Linked DNA regions of Homo sapiens: all the other regions are linked to region 1. Evidence: promoter capture Hi-C in 16 types of primary human blood cells and fetal thymus (Javierre and others, 2016). All regions are on one chromosome and are shown on one strand. Each heading gives the region's core, a stretch centred on a gene start or on the middle of the fragment in contact. The rest is flanking DNA. Distances are from core to core; before and after follow the strand shown. Region 1 holds the start of MAP1LC3B2 (microtubule associated protein 1 light chain 3 beta 2). Region 2 overlaps MED13L (mediator complex subunit 13L). Region 3 overlaps MED13L (mediator complex subunit 13L). Region 4 overlaps MED13L (mediator complex subunit 13L). Region 5 overlaps MED13L (mediator complex subunit 13L). Region 6 overlaps MED13L (mediator complex subunit 13L). Region 7 has its middle 19 kb from the start of MED13L.

The links. The method cuts DNA at HindIII sites, captures the fragments that hold promoters and counts their contacts. A CHiCAGO score of 5 or more calls a contact.
Region 2: a fragment that was not itself captured here is called in contact with the fragment with the promoter of MAP1LC3B2 in region 1 in 5 of 17 cell types (fetal thymus, total B cells, naive B cells and 2 more); the score reaches 7.8 in fetal thymus.
Region 3: a contact is called between a fragment that was not itself captured here and the fragment with the promoter of MAP1LC3B2 in region 1, in 2 of 17 cell types (naive B cells and monocytes). The highest score is 6.2, in naive B cells.
Region 4: a fragment that was not itself captured here is called in contact with the fragment with the promoter of MAP1LC3B2 in region 1 in 9 of 17 cell types (total B cells, naive B cells, non-activated CD4 T cells and 6 more); the score reaches 9.2 in total B cells.
Region 5: a contact is called between a fragment that was not itself captured here and the fragment with the promoter of MAP1LC3B2 in region 1, in 11 of 17 cell types (monocytes, total B cells, fetal thymus and 8 more). The highest score is 11.8, in monocytes.
Region 6: a contact is called between a fragment that was not itself captured here and the fragment with the promoter of MAP1LC3B2 in region 1, in 16 of 17 cell types (total B cells, fetal thymus, neutrophils and 13 more). The highest score is 20.8, in total B cells.
Region 7: a contact is called between a fragment that was not itself captured here and the fragment with the promoter of MAP1LC3B2 in region 1, in 4 of 17 cell types (M2 macrophages, total B cells, fetal thymus and 1 more). The highest score is 5.6, in M2 macrophages.

Annotation. Positions count from the first base shown.
Region 1 is chr12:116,557,845-116,560,887 of GRCh38, reverse strand. It overlaps MAP1LC3B2 (microtubule associated protein 1 light chain 3 beta 2), which reads right to left and starts at 1,507. Exons shown (of 2, transcript NM_001085481.3): 1 at 1,455-1,507. RefSeq lists enhancers at 914-1,013, 1,054-1,103, 1,324-1,663, 1,503-2,012. The HindIII fragment of the contact is 18,876 bases long and covers 1-3,043 here.
Region 2 is chr12:116,199,130-116,202,172 of GRCh38, reverse strand. All of the region lies in intron 2 of MED13L (mediator complex subunit 13L), which reads left to right. Among named protein-coding and RNA genes, the nearest start is that of MIR620, 52 kb to the right of the region's middle. The HindIII fragment of the contact is 2,223 bases long and covers 451-2,673 here.
Region 3 is chr12:116,217,924-116,220,966 of GRCh38, reverse strand. The region is part of intron 2 of MED13L (mediator complex subunit 13L); the gene reads left to right. Among named protein-coding and RNA genes, the nearest start is that of MED13L, 58 kb to the left of the region's middle. The HindIII fragment of the contact is 569 bases long and covers 1,242-1,810 here.
Region 4 is chr12:116,234,816-116,237,858 of GRCh38, reverse strand. It overlaps MED13L (mediator complex subunit 13L), which reads left to right. Exons shown (of 31, transcript NM_015335.5): 2 at 154-391. Among named protein-coding and RNA genes, the nearest start is that of MED13L, 41 kb to the left of the region's middle. RefSeq lists a cis regulatory region at 612 and an enhancer at 540-684. The HindIII fragment of the contact is 475 bases long and covers 1,407-1,881 here.
Region 5 is chr12:116,252,574-116,255,616 of GRCh38, reverse strand. The region is part of intron 1 of MED13L (mediator complex subunit 13L); the gene reads left to right. Among named protein-coding and RNA genes, the nearest start is that of MED13L, 24 kb to the left of the region's middle. The HindIII fragment of the contact is 749 bases long and covers 1,245-1,993 here.
Region 6 is chr12:116,272,794-116,275,836 of GRCh38, reverse strand. The region is part of intron 1 of MED13L (mediator complex subunit 13L); the gene reads left to right. Among named protein-coding and RNA genes, the nearest start is that of MED13L, 3.4 kb to the left of the region's middle. The HindIII fragment of the contact is 1,389 bases long and covers 852-2,240 here.
Region 7 is chr12:116,294,768-116,297,810 of GRCh38, reverse strand. No RefSeq gene overlaps it. Among named protein-coding and RNA genes, the nearest start is that of MED13L, 19 kb to the right of the region's middle. The HindIII fragment of the contact is 287 bases long and covers 1,359-1,645 here.

The DNA.
Region 1 (3,043 bases), core at 258-2,757:
ACCTTGGACTCCCAAGGTGCTGGGATTAGAGGTGTAAGCCACTATGCCCAGCCTTTTTTTTTTTTTAAACTATTTGTAGAAACAGGGTCTCCCTATGTTGCCCAAGCTGGATCTGCCTTCCTTTTATAAGGATACCTGTCATTGGATTTGAGGTCCACCCAGGTAGTCTAGGATGATTCAATCTTGAGATCCTAAAATTAATTTACACCTGCAAAGATCCTTTCTCCATTAAGGTCACATTCACAGGTGCTGCAGCACATTAGACTGTGGACATATCTTTTCTTTTTTTGGTGGAGGTGTGACTGGGGAGACACTATTAAACCCACTACAGTGTAAAAGTAGGCCAGATGTGATGGTTCACACCTGTAATCCCAAGACTTTGGGAGGCCGAGGTGGGCGGATCACTTGAGGTCAGGAGTTCGAGACCAGCCTGGCCAACATGGCGAAACCTCGTCTCTACTAAAAATACAAAAATTAGCTGGGCGTGGTGGCGCACCTGTAATCCCAGCTAGTCGGAAGGCTGAGGCAGGAGAATCACTTGAACCCAGGAGGCAGAGGTTGCAGCGAGCCGAGAGCGCGCCACTGCATTCCAGCCTGGGCGACAGAGGAAGACTCTATCTAAATATATATATATACATATACATACATATATATATATATATATATATATATATATATATATATATATATATATATATAGCCAAACTTAGCTTTATTTCAGAGCCGTTGCTGGGCCTGGGAGTGGAGAGAGATCAGGAGAGCGCCACCAGCTTGGATCGGTTAGTGAGCTGCGGTGGTTTTTGTTTTTGTTTTTTTTTTCTTGACAGTGTCTCCTATTGTTTTGTATTTCTCTTTTGTTTTGAGGTTTTCTGCCATCTTTTCTGGAAGGTGCATGATGCTCAGCTCTGTGGTTATTTTTGCCCAACAGCTGTGTTTCCGGTGAGCGGCTGTGGGATTCTTCTGACTCAGCAAAACTGGAGCAGTAACCGTCAAGAAGCCATTCAAGCAAGGCTAGAAATAAAGAAGCTGTTTCTTCACCGTCCCCTCCTCCTCCTCTCACTTCCCTCCCCATGGGTACCTTTTGAAAGTCTCACAAAGCACTTTGAAAAAACTACTTGGACCAGTATGCTGGAGGGTTGACTGAAGGTGGCCCCTCCGCTGGGCTTTAAGCAAACAGATAAATTCTGGAAAGGACTCTGCCCTGCCAGCCTGGCTGTGGCCTTCGGAAGGCCCCTCCCAACATGCCCCCACCCGCCGATCACATGGACTGTGTCTTACAAGTTTCCCACAGGTCTGACTAGTGAAAGCAGAGGCTGTGGGGACTTTTGTGGTTTTTCTAGGGTGTGGCCCCACTTTGCCTTCACCAGGCCTGAGTATCTATGCCGTGCAGCTTGCCTGCTTCTCAAAGGTCATGATTTCCACCCTGGGGCTGGGAGGCAGCTACATATTCCTACCCGCTGGCACAGGATCTGGCCCTGCACTCCCGAGAGGTGGCTGCGAGCCTTGCGGAGGCAGAGAGAGAACAAAATGGAAAGGAATCTTCCTCCCGGAGAGCCATCTTCTGTGCATGCCGGTGCCTGCAAAAGACAGGCGAGGCGAGACAGCTGCACCTCGGGCCTCGTCGCTGTTGCTGAGAAAGAAAGGAACAAATAAATTTAGCTCCATCCTACGCATCCTTTGCAGCTGCTGATTGACCAAACAGAAAGAGGCCTCTATTTCAACCCTGGCTTCTCAGCTTTTTGCCTGATGGGGTCTGCTATCGCCCTTTACAAGGGACTTTTGAAGGAGGAAACGGGCCGTGGCCTTATTTAGCGCCTGGCCGGCTGGAGGCTGCACAGACAGGAGTTCAAGTTTAGGGTGTCTCTTCTTGCCCATCCCAAAGCAAAATGGTGGCCCGGAAACGTTTCCAAATGGGCTTCGGCTCCTGGAATTTCCAATGTATTTATTTGGAAGCCAGAACATGGTGGGTGGAGAGATGTGTAACTGTGCCGAGGCCAGCCTATAGCTCCCGAAGCCATTAGTTTAATAGCACCATTTGTGGAAATAAAGAACTCGCTGACTGGGCTTGAAGGTAAAAGACTGGAACGAAGCACTGAGGGGGTTTCGTGGGGCTCACTAGCGTGGAGAGGTCCCTGCGGGATGGGGGACAAGCTGTGTGGACTTTGAGTCAGATAGACTTGGGTTCCAGTCCTAGCTCTATCACCTAAAGGCACGTTGTCTCTGGACAAAGAGAGCCTTTGCTCTGTGATATGTAAGTGAAATGCTAGCTGTGACACTGAACCTCTCTGAGCCTCAGTTCCTTATCTGTAAAACAGCAATGATGACACGAGGTCGTCACAAGGATTAAATGACAAAGAATACTGAACCTACATAGCCCAGCTCTTGCTGTGCCATGATGGTGTAGAGTGGCCCCTGTTTGACCTGCCCAGGCCCATTCTCCAAAGAAGCTGTACAGGTGAGGTGGCTCACCCCTGTAATCCCAGTACTTTGGGAGGCCGAGAAGGGAGGATCACTTGAGCCCAGGAGTTTGAGGCCAGCCTGGGCAACATAGAGAGACCCCATCTCTGCAAAAAAATAAAAAAAATTAGCTGGGTGTGGCGGTGCACGCCTGTGGTCCCAGCTACACAGGAGGCTAAGGTGGGAGGATCCCTTGAGCCCAAGAGGTCCAGGCTGCAGCCTGGGTGACAGAGCAAGACCCTGTCTCTAAAAAAAAAAAAAAAAAAAAAAAATAGAAGGTGTTTCTTCCCCAATCCTCTCCTTTCATTTCCCTCCCCGTGAGTACTATTTGGAAGTCTCACACGGCACTTTTTAAAAACCACTTTAAGTCCGGGTGCAGTGGCTCATGCCTGTAATCCCAGTACTTTGGGAGGCCAGGGTGGGTGGATTACTTGAGATCAGGAGTTCAAAACCAGCCTGGCCAACATGGTGAAGCCTCATCTCTACCAAAAATACAAAAATTAGCGGGACACGGTGGCACATGCCTGTAGTCCCAGCTACTCAGGAGGCTGAGGCAGGAGAATCGCTTGAACCCGGGAGGTGGAGG
Region 2 (3,043 bases), core at 313-2,812, 360 kb after region 1:
GAATTTTGCACATGCCCTGCTTTAAACCACTGATTATTTTTGTAAAATGCTGTTGTGTGGATTTGGCTCATTCCATTGACGCTGAACTCATCAGATGGCTATATTGTCTTCTAGGAATGTGACTTGAATTGATTAAATGGCATAGGCAGCAACATCTGTTTTGTAAAGCTAGTTTAGTTTCCTAAAACTTTAAATTTTCAAATTTACAGCTTACAAAGAGAATGAAGCATATTTCTTTAATGCCATAAAAAGACTTTCATGGAGTTTTGATGATAGCTTGTTTTAACCTTGCCCTTAACCTAATTCTTTTTAGAACTTATTTTCTTACTGTATTATATTGCTCATTTTCAAGAAAAAGACATATTTGTAATGTTGGAAACTTTATAGTCTTATATGGATGGCTCTTAGGTTTTTCAGATCATTCATCCATTTGAAGACCTGCAGAAAGCTTTGGATGGTCTCCTAGAAAAAAAAGCACCCATACACGTGCTCCTAAAACTCTGTACAATTGTGGGAGGTAAAGCTCACCTGTACAGATCCCCCTGAAGCCTCCTGCCTCCTTGATGTCCTTTGCTTCACATGTGTTATTAAATGCATTAATAATGCTGCTGACTGTGCACATAAGTTACCTTTCTTTATACACAGCTTATAGATTTGTTGAATATTTGGATCACCATTTTTAAAAATCAAATGTTTTATGATGTTGATCTACATGTGTCATTTTTATTTCTCGGGGTTAATGTCTATTTTTATTCTTTTTCTCTCATCCTTGTAATTTCTTTTTTAGTTAAGGAAATGTATCCATCTCAGGGTTTCTTCATTTATTATTACAACCCTTATTTGGATGGACTTAATGACCAAAATTTATATGGTATTACAGTACATAGGCTTACCTGATCTAATCTTGTAGAAGACTTTTCTTGTATACTTCTTCGTGTAACATTTTCAAATAATATTTTCAATTTGGGATAGAGGACTTTAAAGAAAGTTAAGACTTGGGTAAAGATAGATACTCTCATATGACAACCCATGGGGGCTTTTTAAAATTATACTAGTGGATGTGTATTTTTATATTCAGTTGATCCTAGTCTTTGTACAGTCAGTTTTCTTTTACAATCTGGAATTTTGCCCATGGTTTCAAGGCCAGCATGGGTATTTACTAAGTAATCTTGAGGATGACTGTTCTTCTTTTGTAACCTGCTCTCTCCAGATCTGATCTGTATCTGTTTTAACCCAGAAGATGTGCCCTTTTGCTTACACCATCCCTCTTGTTTTAAGTTAAAAAGACAAAAGCTACCCGATCTACTATGTCATAGGAATTATTATGATATTCTCTACCTCTCTAGCCCTGTATTAAAAAAATCTAACTTGCTGCGTAGTGCTTTTATTTTATAAACTATTTTTAATCATTAAAAAATTCAAATTTATTGATTAAAATATAAATTGAGGCACAGTGAGTCTTTGAAGTCTTTGAAGTGTGCTTAGTATAGACTTAGTGTACTACTGCTGGTTTCATGCACCAGAACGCTTTGATTATTGTGTTTTTTCTCTCCTTGTGGGGTGTAGGCTCATTGAGGACAGTTTACGTACATATTCTTCTGTTAGCACTTTTAACATAGTCCCTGTCAAGTAATTCAACAATAGTTGAACAATTGCTAATTGAATGAATTCTGAAAGTTTCACAAATTAGACCTGAAAGGAAAGATTATTTTTCTCACCTGTTTTTCTTGAAGTTTCAAATTATTTTGAACTACAAATGGTATTTCACTAGTAAGTGTGAAAATTTATTGTGAATATAATTAATGTCTTGCAATGTGTGATGAGAAAGGTGGCTATAGTACACTAGATTGTTAACATTGTACAAAGTACAAAAGTTCTTTGGAAATGTTGAATGACTGCAGTGTGGCCATTATTACTTTTTTCCTGGGGTAAGAAGGAAATGCGATAATTAAAAAAAAGGCAGGGGATTGGTAGTACTTTATTAAAGAAATCTTATGTTGCTAAGATAATTTAGTCATGTAATTTTTTAAAAAACAGGCTATTTAAAATAATGTTTGCTTTTTCCTTCTTCTTCTCCTTTTTTTTTTTTTTTTGAAAAGCATCCTCCTGCCTTGGCCATCCAGAGTGCTAGGATTACAGGCATGAGCCATGGCGCCCGGACTTTTCCTCCTTTTATTTCAACCATGACAATGTATTTTGGCTCTCTGCTGATTTAAATTATATTTCGTGGAAAACAGTATGACGTCCAAAATGCTCATATAACCTTGAACTTGAAATTATTTTCCTGAGAAAATTTGTCCTTCTGACTGATGCTCTTTAGTGTATAAAGGTATTAGTTGTAATTGATTGGCTTCTTAAATGTTGGAAGTATGGTGTTAAGGCAGATAGATTTCTTTATTTCTTGAGGGGTGGAGATTAGATTTTGATACTGGACCAAAAAATGATTTTTCCTGATATAGGTTTGAATTAAAAAAAAAAAGTAGCATTTAAAAAGTATGGATTCCTGGTCTTAAAATTTGATGACTGTTTAACCAAATGGGAACTGTTTTTCTGAAAGTGCTTTAGGGCAATCAGTGCTAATGCTTTTACATGCTTACTGAAAGTAGAAACCTAGGCATTTGATCAGAGTATTTTCTAAGAGATAGAAAATGTTTAAAAGTCAGATGATAAGCTTGCATAAGCCTCAAGGGTGACACAATTTAGTATTCCTAAATAAGGACTTAGTGTTTCTTGCAGATGAGGATATTGCAATAGGAAGCTATTTGACATAAAAATAAAGTGTGCGTGAAGTGTGCTGTATCACTTTTGTGTAAACTCTCTTTTTGATTTTCTTAAGCAGAAATGGCTGAGATTGGGTTTACATAGTCTCTTAAAATCAAAGCTTGCTTTACTGCATAGAATAAAATGTGTTTCTCTGACTGACTAGTACTGTATAAAATAGCCTACCTCTCTCATGCAAAAACTGATATTGGACAGAAGATGGAAGAGACAAGATAAAAAAAATGGGACCAGAATGGAAAGGGAATCACAGAGGTGGCTAGTA
Region 3 (3,043 bases), core at 277-2,776, 340 kb after region 1:
TTGAACACTAGAGGGACTTCAAACTAATCACTGAAGTTTGAGTTCAGTAGTATATTCAGTAGTATATACTTTGTTTAAAAGTGCAGAACCACACAGTTTTTTCCCCCAACTCTGTGGTTTTCATAAGACTAAGTATTATGCCTAAAATTTTACCTGGTAACTTATTTGGTTAATTAATTCTCAGGTTAATAGACCATATATAAAATGTAACCTCTGCCAATATATGTATATCAAAGCAAAAAACTTTTGTTTATGGCCCCTTTATTTTGAGACAGAGTCTCGCTCTGTTGCCTAGGCTGGAGTGCAATGGCACAATCTCGGCTCACTGCAACCTCCGCCTCCCGGGATCAAGTGGTTCTCCTGCCTCAGCCTCCCAAGTAGCTGGGATTACAAATGAGCACCACCATGCCTGGCAAATTTTTGTATTTTTAGTAGAGATGGGGTTTCGCCATAATGGCCAGGCTGGTCTTGAACTTCTGACCTCAAGTGATCTGCCCGCCTCGGCCTCCCAAAGTGTTGGGATTATAGGCATGAGTCACCACGTCCGGCCCTATGTTCTCTTTTAAAATCCAGCGCGTGTATTTTGATGGTCTAAGAGAAGTGGGAATCTGGAAGTTGGCTATGTAAATAATAGTTTTCTCTTGGAAATCTCGAGTAGGAGGCAATAGAGTTTAGAAGAAGTAAATATTAATTTAAATAGTAATTCAGATTATTATTTTATGGAGATTTTAATTGATCCCATGATTATTTGGTATGTTTTGTGAAAAGATTAGTTTATAATGGCATTAACAGCTTAAGCTAGTCTGTTACAGCTTTAGTTCACTTAGGCAGTGTTACAGATAGTTTTGCTATATCATTTTAAAAACTGGTAGGCTGGGTGCGGTGGCTCACACCTGTAATCCCAGCACTTTGGGAGGCTGAGGCGGGGTGGATCACGAGGTCAGGAGTTCAAGACCAGCCTGGCCAAGATGGTGAAACCCTGTCTCTACCAAAAATACAAAAATTAGCTGGGCATGGTGGTGCGCACCTGTAATCTCAGCTACTCGGGAGGCTGAGGCAGAGAATTGCTTGAACCCGGGAGGCAGAGGTTGCAGTGAGCCGAGATGATGCCACTGCACTCCAGCCTGGGAGACAGAGCGAGACTCTGTCTCAAGAAACAAAACAAAATAAAACAAAAAAACTGGCAGTTGAACTTACTTTGGTAAGAACTTCTTTAAAAATGGCTTTTGGCATTAAAAGCTTGAATACTTTCTAAATAGGACTTTGGTTCAATTTTGACATTTTACTCTCAAAATAATTTGGTTGGGAAATACTGTATATTTTAAATTTCAAACAATTAATATGTGTACAATAAATGAATGCTTCGAAAGTTAGGTTTGATGGTGATCCAGGGATTTTAATGTCCACATTGTGGACATAAACAATGAATTAATCTTTATATTCACATCTCTTTGTAAAGAAATCTTAAAAATTACTTAAGATTAATAAAATTAATGAATTGAGTATAGATGTCTACATTTTCTTCAGAAATAAATTTATTTATTTTTGTATTTATAATGCTGATCTAGCTTTAGTTAAAATACTGGAACACTGGTGAAAATAGGCATCTGCCTATCTTTACCTTTAACGTATGCTAATTAGATTTTTTAAGATGTAGAAATATATACTAATAACATGAATATAATTTAAATTCTTTATGTTTACGAGTATTCCTCTTTATTTCACTTTCCTTGATTAGATGTTCATAAAATTCACTATATAAGTTAAGAATAAGTCCAGTTATGTACAGAAAGATAAAATTTAAAAAGCTTGTCTCTTTATTATTGACATTCTGTCAGCTTCCAAAATTTTTTGAACTGACTAGAATGGTGTATGTAATTGGCTATTTTACGTTGACACTTTTCATTCTAACTTGTAAGAATTTCGGTATAGGCTGGGTGTGGTGGCTCACACCTGTAATCCCAGCACTTTGGGAGGCCAAGGTGGGCGGATTACTTGAGGTCAGGAGTTTGAGACCAGCCTGGGCAATATGGTGAAATCCTGTCTCTACAAAAATACAAAAAAAATTAGCCAGGTGTGGTGGCACATGCCTGTAATTCCAGCTGCTGGGGTGGCTCAGGCTGGAGGATCACTTGAGACTGGGAGGCAGAGGCTGCAGTGAGCTGAGATTGCACCACTGCACTCCAGCCTGGGTGACAGAGCAAGACCTTGTCTCCAAAAAAAAAAAAAATTTTACTGCTTGCCTTAAATTGCCTTAAATGCTTTGCTTAATGCTGATAAGCCCTCCTGTTAAATTACAGATTTTGTGTTGGGTTATTTGGAGAAGAAATTTGAAAATGGAGAGCCATTTACAACTTCTTTATCTTTTTCTGAAAAGTTTGATGTTAGTGTCAAAAAAAAAAATGCTGGTTAAAACTTTTCCCTGAAGACCGAATTTCTGGAGAATGCCAGAAAGTACATAGAGTACTGAACTGTGAGTCTCAGAGTAGGGTGAAGGGGTGTTAGGTATAAAAAGCATGTTTTTGTTGTAAATGTTGGCTGGTTGACATAATTATAATTGTTGGCATTGCAGGAATCTTTGAGTGTCTGTTGTTTTGAACAGAGTTAAAAACTGACCTTGACTTTGTTATATTTAGAAGGAGTGGGCAGTAATTGCCAGTGTGTTAAATATTAGATTTGAAGGTTATTGGATATTCTTGAGAGCTATAAAAAATCCCATTTTATTATCTTTTATTCTGTGTTTTGGCTTTTGCAGAAAGTATTATACGAAGTAAACTTGATCATTGAATGCCTCTGGGTTAAAAAAAATTACATACTTTGGAAAATGACTTGACAAAAGTTTAATTAGAGAAAGGCTGATTAGATAGTTATGCTATTGAATCTCTTTATGTTATCGAATCTCTTATACTTGGAGGAGGAGGGGAAGTGTATAATTCAATTCAACGAGCTTGTGTTGAGTGCTAGACGACTATGTTGTGTGCTGGGAAAGACATGGTTAGTTACTTCCAGGAGACTGAGATATATAACTAGTTGCTCATTTTTT
Region 4 (3,043 bases), core at 395-2,894, 320 kb after region 1:
GATTGACATACATTCTTCACTGGGAGGAATCTTATGATATGAAGTTTCGTGTAAATATTTATTTTAGCACAATTGCTTTTCTGTATGGAAGACTGTTTTTAGTGGTCTGTAAGTAAAATGAGAAAACGATTACAATTTTTTGTCTTTTTCCAGGCTGAACTCACGGGAATCAAATGGCGTAGGTACAATTTTGGAGGGCATGGGGACTGTGGACCCATAATTTCAGCCCCAGCCCAAGATGATCCAATTCTGTTAAGTTTCATCCGCTGTCTGCAAGCTAACCTGCTTTGTGTATGGCGTCGTGATGTCAAACCAGATTGCAAAGAGTTATGGATATTCTGGTGGGGAGATGAACCCAACCTAGTGGGTGTAATACATCATGAACTGCAGGGTAAGGTTTCTGTTTTTTTCTTAAAAATTATTTGCATCATATTTTTTTGAACATTGATAAATTTCAAACAGATTATTAAGACTTGTCTAAAAGAACGATCTTAAGTGTTTCATGGATGTCTCTCTCAAAAGGAACATTCTCACCCCTCTTCCTCCCATCCCTGTTTTTTTTTCCTAACTCTTGTCCTTTTCCAGTTATGCTGAGAATCAGAACCTTGTGAACCGCTGCTGTTAAATGAGAGTATTGTGTCTCCTGGGTGCGGTGGGGTGGAAACCAGGCTAAGATCCACTGTTTTTAAATGATAGTGAATTGTGAGTAACTAACAAGACAGTGAATTGAACAGTTACTGTTTTTTTCCTTGGACTGTGGTTGTTATGGTTCACTGCCAGCTGAACTCTTTGGTGGAAAATTGGAGAGTGATACAGAAATTTAGTTTTGAGCCTAATTGGACAAAATTGTGAGATTACATTGAATAGTATTTTGAGGAAAGATGAATATATGGGATCTGGTCTGAATTGGGTGTAGCAAATTTTCTTTTGCTTTTATTTCTGTTTTTCATGTAATTTGGTGATTCCAGGAAACATTGGCTCCGGTGTTGCCTGATTTTTAGCTTCAGATTGCATCTGATATCTGGAAACTGAATTAATGTAAGAGTTTCATTTTTCTGTGCTGCTTTATATATTTACCACAGTTTTATGAGCAGGAACTTTTATCAGTTGTCTTTGAATTTCTGGTAAAAATTTTTACCTTTTTATCTAAGTGTTTCTATTTAGTATGCAAAGGGATTTTCTCAAGCAAGACTAATTCTAATCTTTAGTTAGGGTATTAACTCTTTTTGACTTAGTCTCTTAGAACCATCTTTTATTATCTCCAAACTATATTGTGTTAATCTGTGTCTGAAAAATTTCAGATCGTGTTTGAAATGTTTTGTTACTTGATGTTTTTAATGTTTTTTTTTTTTAAAGGAAGGAGTAAAACTAACTGTAATGTATGTTCGAGGCTCTGTTCTAAAGCTTTTACATTTGCCTGAAGGATTTCCTGCCAACTTTTGCTTGACACCTTGCTAGTTTTTCTTGGCAGCCATTTTTTATCTGTGATATCTCCTGCCACAGCAGCCAGAGGGCGGTAAACCACAATGGACTAATTGAACTGTTTACTTTATGGTCCATTTGTCTGTTCAGCTCAAACCTTTATCCTGATATTTTTTAGGGTATTTGGTCTATAAATAAGAGAACCATTGTGGGTGACATTGCTTGCTTAGCTGGGTAATCAGCAAAGTCCCAGAACTTAACATTCATCTCAAAGCCTGTTCTATGTAGTTAGCAGTTAACTTAGGTAAAATTAGAGTTTCAGAACATCTGGATTCTGTTTATCAGAATTTTAAAAATAAGATGTCACCTAGAAGATAATTACAACATTTTTGTTTGTCCATTAAAATATGAAAACATATTTTTACTTTTTTTCCCTATGTAGTAGAGAGGTATAAAGCTTTTTAAAAAGTGTCTTTCTTATCTTTCATGATTGTTTCTGACTGTCATCTTCTGTTTCTCTGTATTAATCTCTTACGTTTTAGCTTTTTGGTCTGCTCTTTGTTAGTGTGGTACATATAATTTTGTAATGATGAGGAAACCAAACCCAACTGCTAATGAGGGTTATTTAGTTGATAATATAGAATAAATTTATTTATCTATGCCAACGGAGAAAATCGTCAGTGTTCTTAGAAATAGCTTATTAAATTATTGTGTTATTTTTCATGGGCTTTGTTACTGAGTTAACAAAAAGGAGTAGGGCATTTAAATTTTGGGATAGTTGCTTTAGATTGCATGTGTAAATTAATATCTTAAGTATTTTTTGGTAAAGAGTTAAGCAAAGATTGAATTATTTTTAGATATTTTTAAAATTACAGAAACACTACATTTAAGTTAGAAAATTAGGAAAACAGTCATCATATGGAGAGAACAAAGAAATAAAAATACTGAAGTCTGAAAGAGTTTTAGATGTTTTATGTGTAAATGAAATTGGTACCATACAGTTTTTCTAATTTTCTAATTAAATGTAGTATTGTGAATATTTTCTCTTGGGAATGATTACTTTTCTTTGGAGTTTGATAGTGGTATAAACTGTTTATATTTTGTATTCTATCAGGAAAGTATTACAGTAATGGAATAATTATAATTTCATTGAGTGCGTCTCCTCTTTTTAATATGAATTTTGAGCAAGTTTTTAGATTCATTTATATGAAGTGTCCATTTTTGTAGGTAAAAGTAGTTGAAAAAGGTAATGTATGGTTCAACCTAATAACAGAAAATATCTAGCCTTAATTAGAAAAATAAGTCATAAAGACAACTTTGTTTCAAATAAGGGGAAATACGATAGCAGTCATGAAAAACTGAAGGATACAAAGAGAATATTTTAATTGGTAGCCATACAAAGTGGAGATATTTTAGAATCTATTTCATTCTCTAATATATTTGAGTCATTTTATTTTGGGTAAAATAAATTATAGGCGGAGCATGGTGGCTCACGCTGGTTATCCCAACACTTTGGGAGGCTGAGGGGGCCCAAATGCTTGAGGCCAGGAATTTGAGACCAGCCTGACCAATATGGTGAAACCCTGTGTTTACAAAAAATAAAAAAAAAAAATTAGCCAGG
Region 5 (3,043 bases), core at 370-2,869, 310 kb after region 1:
ATGTATTACAAATGTATTCTCCTAATTTGTGGTGTGCCTTTTCATTTTCTCACTGTCTTCTTTGAATAACAAAAGCTTTAAATTTTGATTAAGTCAAGTATTACTTTTATAAATCTATACTTTTCATGTCCTAAGACATCTTTGCCATCCCAAAGCAGGAAAGTTTTTTTCTTATGATTTCTTCCAGAAGTTTTACAGCATTAGTTAATTAGGTTTAGGCTTGCAATCCAGTAACTTATTTTAAGTTAATTTACATGGTGCGAGGTGAGGATTGAAGTTCTGGTTTTGTTTTGCATACGTTTAGCAAACTATTTAAACATCATTTGTTGAAGACTTATTGAATGACCTTAGAATCTTTGTTAAAAATTAATGGACTCTATGTGTGCATTGCTTTTTTCTGGGTTCTATATTCAGTTCCTTTGATCTACATGTCTGTTATGCCAGTACTACACTATGATGATTACTGAAATTTTATAGTATGTCTTGAAATTAGGATAAATTCTCCGACTTTGTTCTTTTAAAAATTGTATTGATTCTTCTGGGTGTTTTGCATTTCAATATAAGTTTTAGGATCAGCGTGTCAATTAAAAATTTTTTTTCTGTGGGGATTTATTTGTGATTGTATTGAATCTGTAGATCAAATTGGGAAAATTGACATTTTAACGATTTTAAATCTTTCAGTTCATGAACATGGTCTGGCTCTTCATTTCTCTAGATATTTAATTTCTCTCAACATTGTTCCGTAGTTCTTAGTATATAGATCTGGAACATACTTTTATCAGATATATTCCTAAGTAAGTTGTGTTTTTCAATGCTGTTTTAATGGCTATTATTTTAGAGTATTCCCCCCCACCCCCTTTGGACACAGAGTCTCACTCTGTCACCCAGGCTGGGTGCAATGGTGCGATCTCAGCTGACTGTAACCTCCGCCTCTCTAGTTCAAGCAGTTCTCCAGCCTCAGCCAGGAGAATCATGGTAGCTGGGATTACAGGTGTATGCCACCATGCCTGGCTAATTTGTTTGTGTTTTTAGTAGAGACAGAGTTTCATCATGTTGACCAGGCTGGTCTTGAACTCCTGACCTAAAGTGATCTGCCTGCCTTGACTTCCCAAAGTGCTAGGATTACAGGTGTGAGCCACTGCACCTGGCCATTTGAGAGTATTTTTTGACATGTTTACTGTTAGTTTATAGAAACGCCATTAATTTTTGGATATTGATTCTGTATACTGCAACTTTCCTAAGCTTTATTAGTTGTAGTAGCTTTTTTTGTAAATCCTTGGATTTTAAAAAACGTACGTGATGATGTTATCTGCAATTATAGATGGGTTTATATCTTTCTTTGTAATTTGTATTTTACTACTTTTTCTTGCTTCATTGCATTGATTAGGACCTACAGGGCAGTATTGAATAGAAGTAGTAAGAGTGTACATCCTTACCTTGTTCCTGTTCTTGGGCAGAAAATATTCACTCTTCTCATTGTTGACATTAGCTTTGAATTTTCTGATATCCCCGTAAGGTTGAGAAAGTTCTCTTTAATTCTTAGTTTTTAAAATACCGTGAAAGTGGCTGGGCTCACACCTGTAATCCCAGCAATTTGGGAGGCCGAGGTGGGTGGATCACTTGAGGTCAGGGGTTCGAGACCAGCCTGGCCAATGTGGCGAAACCCCGTCTCTACTAAAAATACAAAAAATTAGCTTGGCATGGTGGCACACGCCTGTAATCTCAGCTACTCAGGAGGCCGAGGCACGAGAATCTCTTGAACCCAGGAGGCAAAGGTTGCAGCAAGCAGGTATTGCGCCACTGCACTCCAGCCTGGGTGACAGAGTGAGACTGTCTCAAAAAAAAAAAAAAAAAAAAAAAAAACAAAAAAAACCGTGAAGGTGGGTATTGATTTTTGTTAAATGTTTTTTCTGCATCTATTGAGATGATCATAGGTTTTGTTCTTTTAATATGGTGAATTATACTGATGGGTTTCTAAATGTTGAACTAAGCTTGAATTCCACGACAAACCTTACTTAAGCTTATGGTATTATTATTACGTGTTATTAGATTTGATGTGCTAATATTTTGTTAATGGTTTTTTCATCTGTGTTTATGAAGGATATTGGCGTGTACATTTCTTATCATCTCTGTTTGGTTTTGGTATCATGGTTAATGTTGGTGTCATAAAATAGTTTGGGAAATAGTCCCTCCTTTGTTTTCTGAAAGAGTTTGTGCAGGACTAGTGATATTTTTTCCTTAGATGTTCGATAGAATTCACCAGTGAAGCTATATTGCCTTGGAGATTTTCTTGTGGGAAGGTTTGAAACCATGAATTCCACGTCTTTTTTTTTTTTTTTTTTTTGAGATGGAGTTTCGCTGTTATTGCCCTGGCTGGAGTGCAATGGCGCCATCTTGGCTTAGTGCAACCTCCGCCCCCCTCCCCCACCCAGGTTCAAGATATTCTCCTGCCTCAGCCTCCCAAGTAGCTGGGATTACAGGTGCGCACCAACACATCTGGCTAGTTTTTGTATTTTTAGTACAGACGGGGTTTCACCACGTTGGCCAGGCTGGTTTTGAACTCCTGACCTCAGGTGATCCACCTGCCTTGGCCTCCCAAAGTGTTAGGATTATAGGCGTGAGCCATCACGCCTGGCCCTCTGTGTCTTTAATAGATATAGAGTTGTTCAGATTTTCTGTTTCTTTGTTAATTTGGTAAAGGAATTTTGTTCATTTAACCTGAGTTTTATTTATTGGCACAAAAATTGTCTGTAATAATTCCCCTATCATTTTAGTGTTTTTAGAATGTGTGGTAATGCCTCCCCTTTTTTTTCCTGATATTGGTAGTGTGTCTGTTCTTTCCCTCTTGATTAGTCTAATGAGCATTTGTTAATTTTACTAATCTTTAAAGAACCAGCTTTTTGTTTTCTTTTTTTCTGTATTATCAAATTTGTTTTATGTCTTATCTATTAATATTTCTTCTCTTTTCCACATTATTTCCTTTCTTCTATTTACTTTTGGTTTAATTTCTTCTTCCTTTTATAGCTTCTGAGGGTAGATGCTT
Region 6 (3,043 bases), core at 297-2,796, 290 kb after region 1:
GAATATAATTGGAAAATTGGCTGAACGGTTTATTTAATTTAGCCTTAAAAACACCCAACTTGTTTTAAGTTGTGTACCCTGTTTTTTTTGGGGGGGAGGTGAGTCCCTTTTGGAGAGCATGCATTTTGGAAATTATTTTCTGTAACCCCCGCTGTAGATAGAAGCATTATTTCCCTCTTAATCCTTGTTTACACTGGATAAATAATTTAGTGTTCAAATTGTAATTAGTTACATTTAATTATGGGTGGCATAGATGCCTTTTTGCTATGAGACTAATGGAGAAATGCAAATTCTCGCCAACTTTTCAAATGAAAGTGTTACTTTATTAAATGTGTTACAATGCAGACCAAAAAATCAACACGTGATTTTTACCTACAAAGACATAGTATCATTGCTCCCACTCTAGTAAAATCAGGTAAATTTTTTTAAATGAAATATTTTAATCCAGATATTTAATCTTAAAATTCATTTATAAGTTGGAATTCTTTCTCTTAGTATTGTGATAATTTTCCCTTGATTTTTTGGTATGTGGGAGTAAAACCCCCTTTTGCCTCAACTTTTTCCCTCCTCAGTCTTATCATTTAGTATCAGTCAGGTTCAGGGACTTCCATAGATTAGCAAACATATTGATCAAGGGGTATTTAAAATGGTTTTTGTGTGGTTACTGGTGACCACATTGACACTTACAGGTAATTAAAATAACCAAGTAGAGCGATCTCCCAAATTATCATATATTATGCTGACTGGTAATGGCTGTGTATATACGGATTCTGTAGACAAATGAAAGTATATGTATAGCCAGTCTTTAGGGTATATCATTTCTTTTATCTTTTTTTTTTTTTTTTAAAGCTTAAGTAAGGATGATAACGTTACAGAGATAAAATGCTTGAGATTCTTTTGGAGAAGCAATTTTGTAGGAGAGGATTCTGTACTTTGATTTTGAATGACTAAAGGTTTGTGTTTGAGATATTTCTCCCCTAAACCTCTTTAAACCAAGGGATTGATTTTTGAATATGCTTTTTTAAAAAGAATTATTTTTTAAGTAGCAACTTTGAACTAGAGAACCATAGAAATGCTTAGTTGATTTTTTTTTTTAAAGGAACGTAGAATGTCTTCATTCTCTTGTACGTGGAGTGTGGATAAGGTGCTATTGAAGAAATGTAAATTAATTAAACTGCTGACTTGTACATTTTTCTGATTCCAAATTGAGATTTTTTTTTTTTGAAAATGCTATACAGCAGTAGCAACCTGGAATATTAAAAATATGTTGCCCAAAGTACATTGTATATCATAGTTATTTCTGAAGGAGATGTAATCACTTGTTCAAAATCATGTTTTTTTATAAGAACGCTTTATGGTTTAATAATAGCATGCATTTTTTTCTTTTGGCCTGCAGGGTTTTTTTTTTTTTTGTTTTGTTTTTTTTTGCAGAGAAAAGTATTTATAAAGAATTTACCTAGATACTCTCATTAGTTAGATTGAAATAAGAGATTAAGTTCTGTACCGTGGTAATACCCACCCAGTTTCCATTACCTTGAGGTGTTCATTATGGCTTACCAAAAGTTGATTGTGCAATCAATCAGACACTTTAAGATTTCTGCTAGTCTTTTACTTATTTTCTGATTTTTTACTGCACGGAATCAAATTTCTTAAATTAATTTTTCAGCATCCATTCCCTTTTCCTAACGTGTGAAAAATGCCATTGTGTATATATGATATGGGTCATTGTATAAGTTTCTTATTCTAACTGCTGTGAGATTTGTAGCTGCTGCATTAAGTGCATGCCTGCCTGTGCCTTTCTGACTCAAAACTATTTTCTTATGCTGTCCATCACATTTCTGGGTGACTTTTTATATATTCACTCAGTTAATCATTCAGTTAAAAGTGTGTTAAATCTGCCTTTTTGAAAAGTGTAACAGTGCACCCTATGGTATGTGAACTCATTCTTGTGAGAAGACATAATTTCTGGATGTTAAGTAGACATTTATTTTTCTCTATTGAGTTAATATGGAGAAAGTGATTTTGTGCCCTTTAACTAGATTTAAATATGTGCTCTTTGATATGAGGGAGTGATCTCTAGTTCTTAGATATGTATGCTCCACTTTCATGTTTTATTTGCTTAGAATCTTCCTGACTATGGATAATTGGGTGATAATCTCAAATTCTTGCTGAATTGAGACACTAGTACACCCATTAGTACATAATTCCTATTGAAGACCATTAGTTCTATATTTGAAGCTTTTAAGGTAATCTATTGTTGACCTACTTTCTTTTTGTCTTAAGGGATTTTTTTGCAGAATGGGAAGGTAGTTGTAAATGTAGAAAGTCTGAATTTTTTTTTTTTTTGCGCTAGAACAAAATAGGGTGGACTATAAAATGGAAATTAGGAAAAGGGAATGATTTCTCTAATTTTCAAAGTGCCAAAATACACAAGGTATTTTTTTGTACCAGTTCATTGTGATTTTATAATTTATGTTTAAAGCATTTTTTTCCATGATGGTTCATTTTCTTTCTTTTTATTTTTTATTTTTTTGAGACGGAGTTTCGCCTTGTTGCTCAGGCTGGAGTGCAAAGGTGCCATCTCAGTTCACTGCAACCTCTGCCTCCCAGGTTCTAGCGATTCTCCTCCCTCAGCCTCCGGAATACCTGGGATTACAGGCATGTGCCACCACGCCCGGCTAATTTTGTATTTTTAGTAGAGACGGGGTTTCTCCATATTGGTCAGGCTGGTCTCAAACTCCCGACCTCAGGTGATCCACCTGCCTCAGCCTCCCAAAGTGCTGGGATTACAGGCATGAGCCACTACGCCTGGCTATCATTTTCTGTAATGAAAATATTTACAATTTGTTAATGTATGTTTTCGGTTTAGCATTTTGTTGTTAGTAGCACATGGTGTTACAGTATTTATATATTTTTAATAGCAATAATTGCCACCCGGTAATAGTTGCCATATTAACCTCCAATTGCTAGTAAATATTTTTAAGTACATAATAGACAGCAATTTAAGGCATAGTGTAGCAGTTTACTGGACTGTTTTAAAGAG
Region 7 (3,043 bases), core at 253-2,752, 260 kb after region 1:
CTTTCATTCGTGTAATTAATTTTAGATTCATCCATGTTTTGTGTATCAATATTTCATTCTTTTTTGTGAATGAGTAGTATTGTGTTGTATAGATAAACCACAGTTTTTTCTTCCTTCCTTCCCTCCTTCCTTCCTCTTTCTTTCTTTCTTTCTTTCTTTCTTTTTCTTTCTTTCTTTCCTTTCTTTCTTTTTCTCTTGCTGTTTCTTTTTTCTTTCTTTCTTCTCCTTTCTTTCCTATTTCCCTGTCTTCATTCACCTACCTATCTTTCACTTTTTAGAAGTAAGCCTATTTGGAAAGATGTCCATCACAGTGTCTATATTTAATAGCAAAAATAGATCTAATGACCTACATCTCAGCCTAAAGGGAAAGGAGTAAATAAAGTTTGTTTACACTCACACAATGGAACACTATACAGCCATCAAAAAGAATGAGGTAGTTTTATGTGCTATCAGACTACAATGAGCCAAACTGTGGCCAGTCTCAACCAAAGAATCACATACCAAAGAATCACCAGCATTGGAAAATAATTGATATCTGAACTGAAGCCTCTTTGAGCAATCCGTACGATCCTCAAGTCTCCCTCATTGTAACAGCTACTTCCTTAAATGCTTCTCCTCATTTCCTCCCAATTTCAGTGTGGGCTATTATATTCTTTTCTTCAGGCACTCTTTCCTTCTTCATTCATCCACTCCTCCCCACTTTTTTTTTTAATTGTAAGAGACAGGGTCTTGTTGTATGGCCCAGCCTGGAGTACAGTGGTGCCATCATACCTCGCTGCAACCTGGAACTCCTGGGCTCACACCTCAGCCTCCTGAGAGGCTAGGACCACAATCAGGTGCCACCATGCCTAATTTTTTTTTTTTTAATTTTTGTAATGATGACGGTCTTGCTCTGTTGCCCAGGCTGGAGTGCAGTGACACCATCATAGCTCACTGCAAGCTCAAACTCCTGGGCTCAAGTGATCCTTCTGCCTCAGCCTCCCAAAGAGTTGGGATTACAGGCATGAGCCATTATGCCTGGCCTTACTCCCTTTTTGATCTACTCTGTTCTACCCCAGGTGGCTTCAGGTCCTTCCTTGTGCAAATTGCAAGTCAATGTACTCACTCTTAGCTTCTCCAGTCCCTGATGGGTCCAACAAAAGGTCTAGGGATTAGGGAGGCAAAGGCAGAATCTTCTTTAGAAGAAAGAATAGGTGAAAAGTTGATAAATACTTAGTGATATTTTCATCCCTGATATATGCATACACATACACACACACACACACACGAAGATGCCTATGACACGTTGTTGAGTGCAGAAAACAAGTTGCAAAACACTCATCACACTTATAATACCTCATTTGTTTCCTTCAGAAGCTTATGAAGTCCCAAAGGACAAACATTGTCCCCTGTAATCCAGTGCCTGGAGCATGGTAGATCTTTAAATATGCTGCTTTTATTGCTTCATTAGATATTTTTCAACATGTTAGTAGTGCATATCATGGAATGATGGAATTGTAGGTCATTTTCACTTGCTCATTAATATTCTTCCATATTGTTTGAATATTTAATGGAGAGCTTGCGTTTCTTTTCCTTTTGCTCTCTCATTTTATCTTATTTATTTACTTGTTAATGTTATTTTTATAATCTAATAAAGCAAAAAGCTTTTTGAATTAAAAAAATGTGAATGGAATGGTGAGAATTTAAGGCATTTCCTTCTAGTAGGGAAGAGAGATTTGGAGACTTTTGGCACCCATTAAATTACATCCATTAAGTAATACTGTGGGAAGGAAAACAAAACTCAAGCATCACAGTATCAAACCAATCCTTCAAGTTAGCAGAACCTCTGTGTTTACTTGGTGCATGCAGCCGCCACACTGACCCTTTCTCCAGCTTCCCTAACAGACTGGGATCTAGCCTGCTTCAGCTCCTCCTGTTGGTTTCTTACAGACTTTGGACCTCATCTGATGAGCTCCAGATACAGAGTCCACTGCGATAGCCAGAAGGGCTGTGCCATTCTTGTTTCATAGATATCCAATGTGCCCTGCCACTGTCCTTGATTCAATGGAAAACTGAAGAAATGGAAAGAAAAATTACTCACTGACACCTGGATAGTATGTTTAAAGTTTCTTTGCTTTGAATAGTTCTGTCTGCCCATTCATCCATCCATTCATCCATCCATCATTCATCTACCCATTCATCCATTCATCCATCCTTTCATCCATCCATCCATCCATCCATCCATCATCTATCCATCCATCCATCCATTATCCATCCACCCACCCATCCTTCATCCTCCATCCACTCATCCTTCATCCTCCATCCCTCCATCATCCATCTTCCATCCTCCATCCATCTACCCATCCATCCATTTTCCATCATTTATTCATCCATTCATCTGACCTCCATCATCCATCCATCTCTCTTCGCCTACTATCTATCTACTCTTCCATCCATCTGTCTATCATCTATTATCTATTTCTTTATACATAGGTCCCTCCTTTTCCTTTGACAATCTTTTACCTGGCCATTGATGCCAATGAGGCCAATGGATGTTAATATTCTGGTATAGCTGGAAAAAGATACAGATTAATAGTAAATATGATTCTCTGCTAAGAATCTGTTGGTAACCAGGCACCAGGCACAATGTAAAGAAATCAGAAAGTGCTAAGCTCATGGCCTGACACATACAAGTGGGAAAAAACATTCCTTTGAGTTCATTCCCTTGTTAGTGCTTGTAATTACAGATCTTTGCTACTGCTTCAATGAAGCCTCATGCGTTCATAACAACTGGTGTGAAGGGCAGGTTAAGAGGTCTTTCTGTATTAAAGAGACTGTTTAGAATCCTTAAACAAAATGAACCTTTATTCCTTTTGAGTACAGAGGAGACCCTGACAAAGAAAGGGTTTCCAAGTAGTAGTACTTTTCTTCTGCTCTAATCAACATTTAAAACTCATCTGGATTTGGCAGGAATTTATTTGGGTAAGAGTGAGGTGCTAAAAGCCTTACGGCAATTTACTCTTTTGAAGACATGGAATGCGCCCTGTACAATCTTCTTGACACA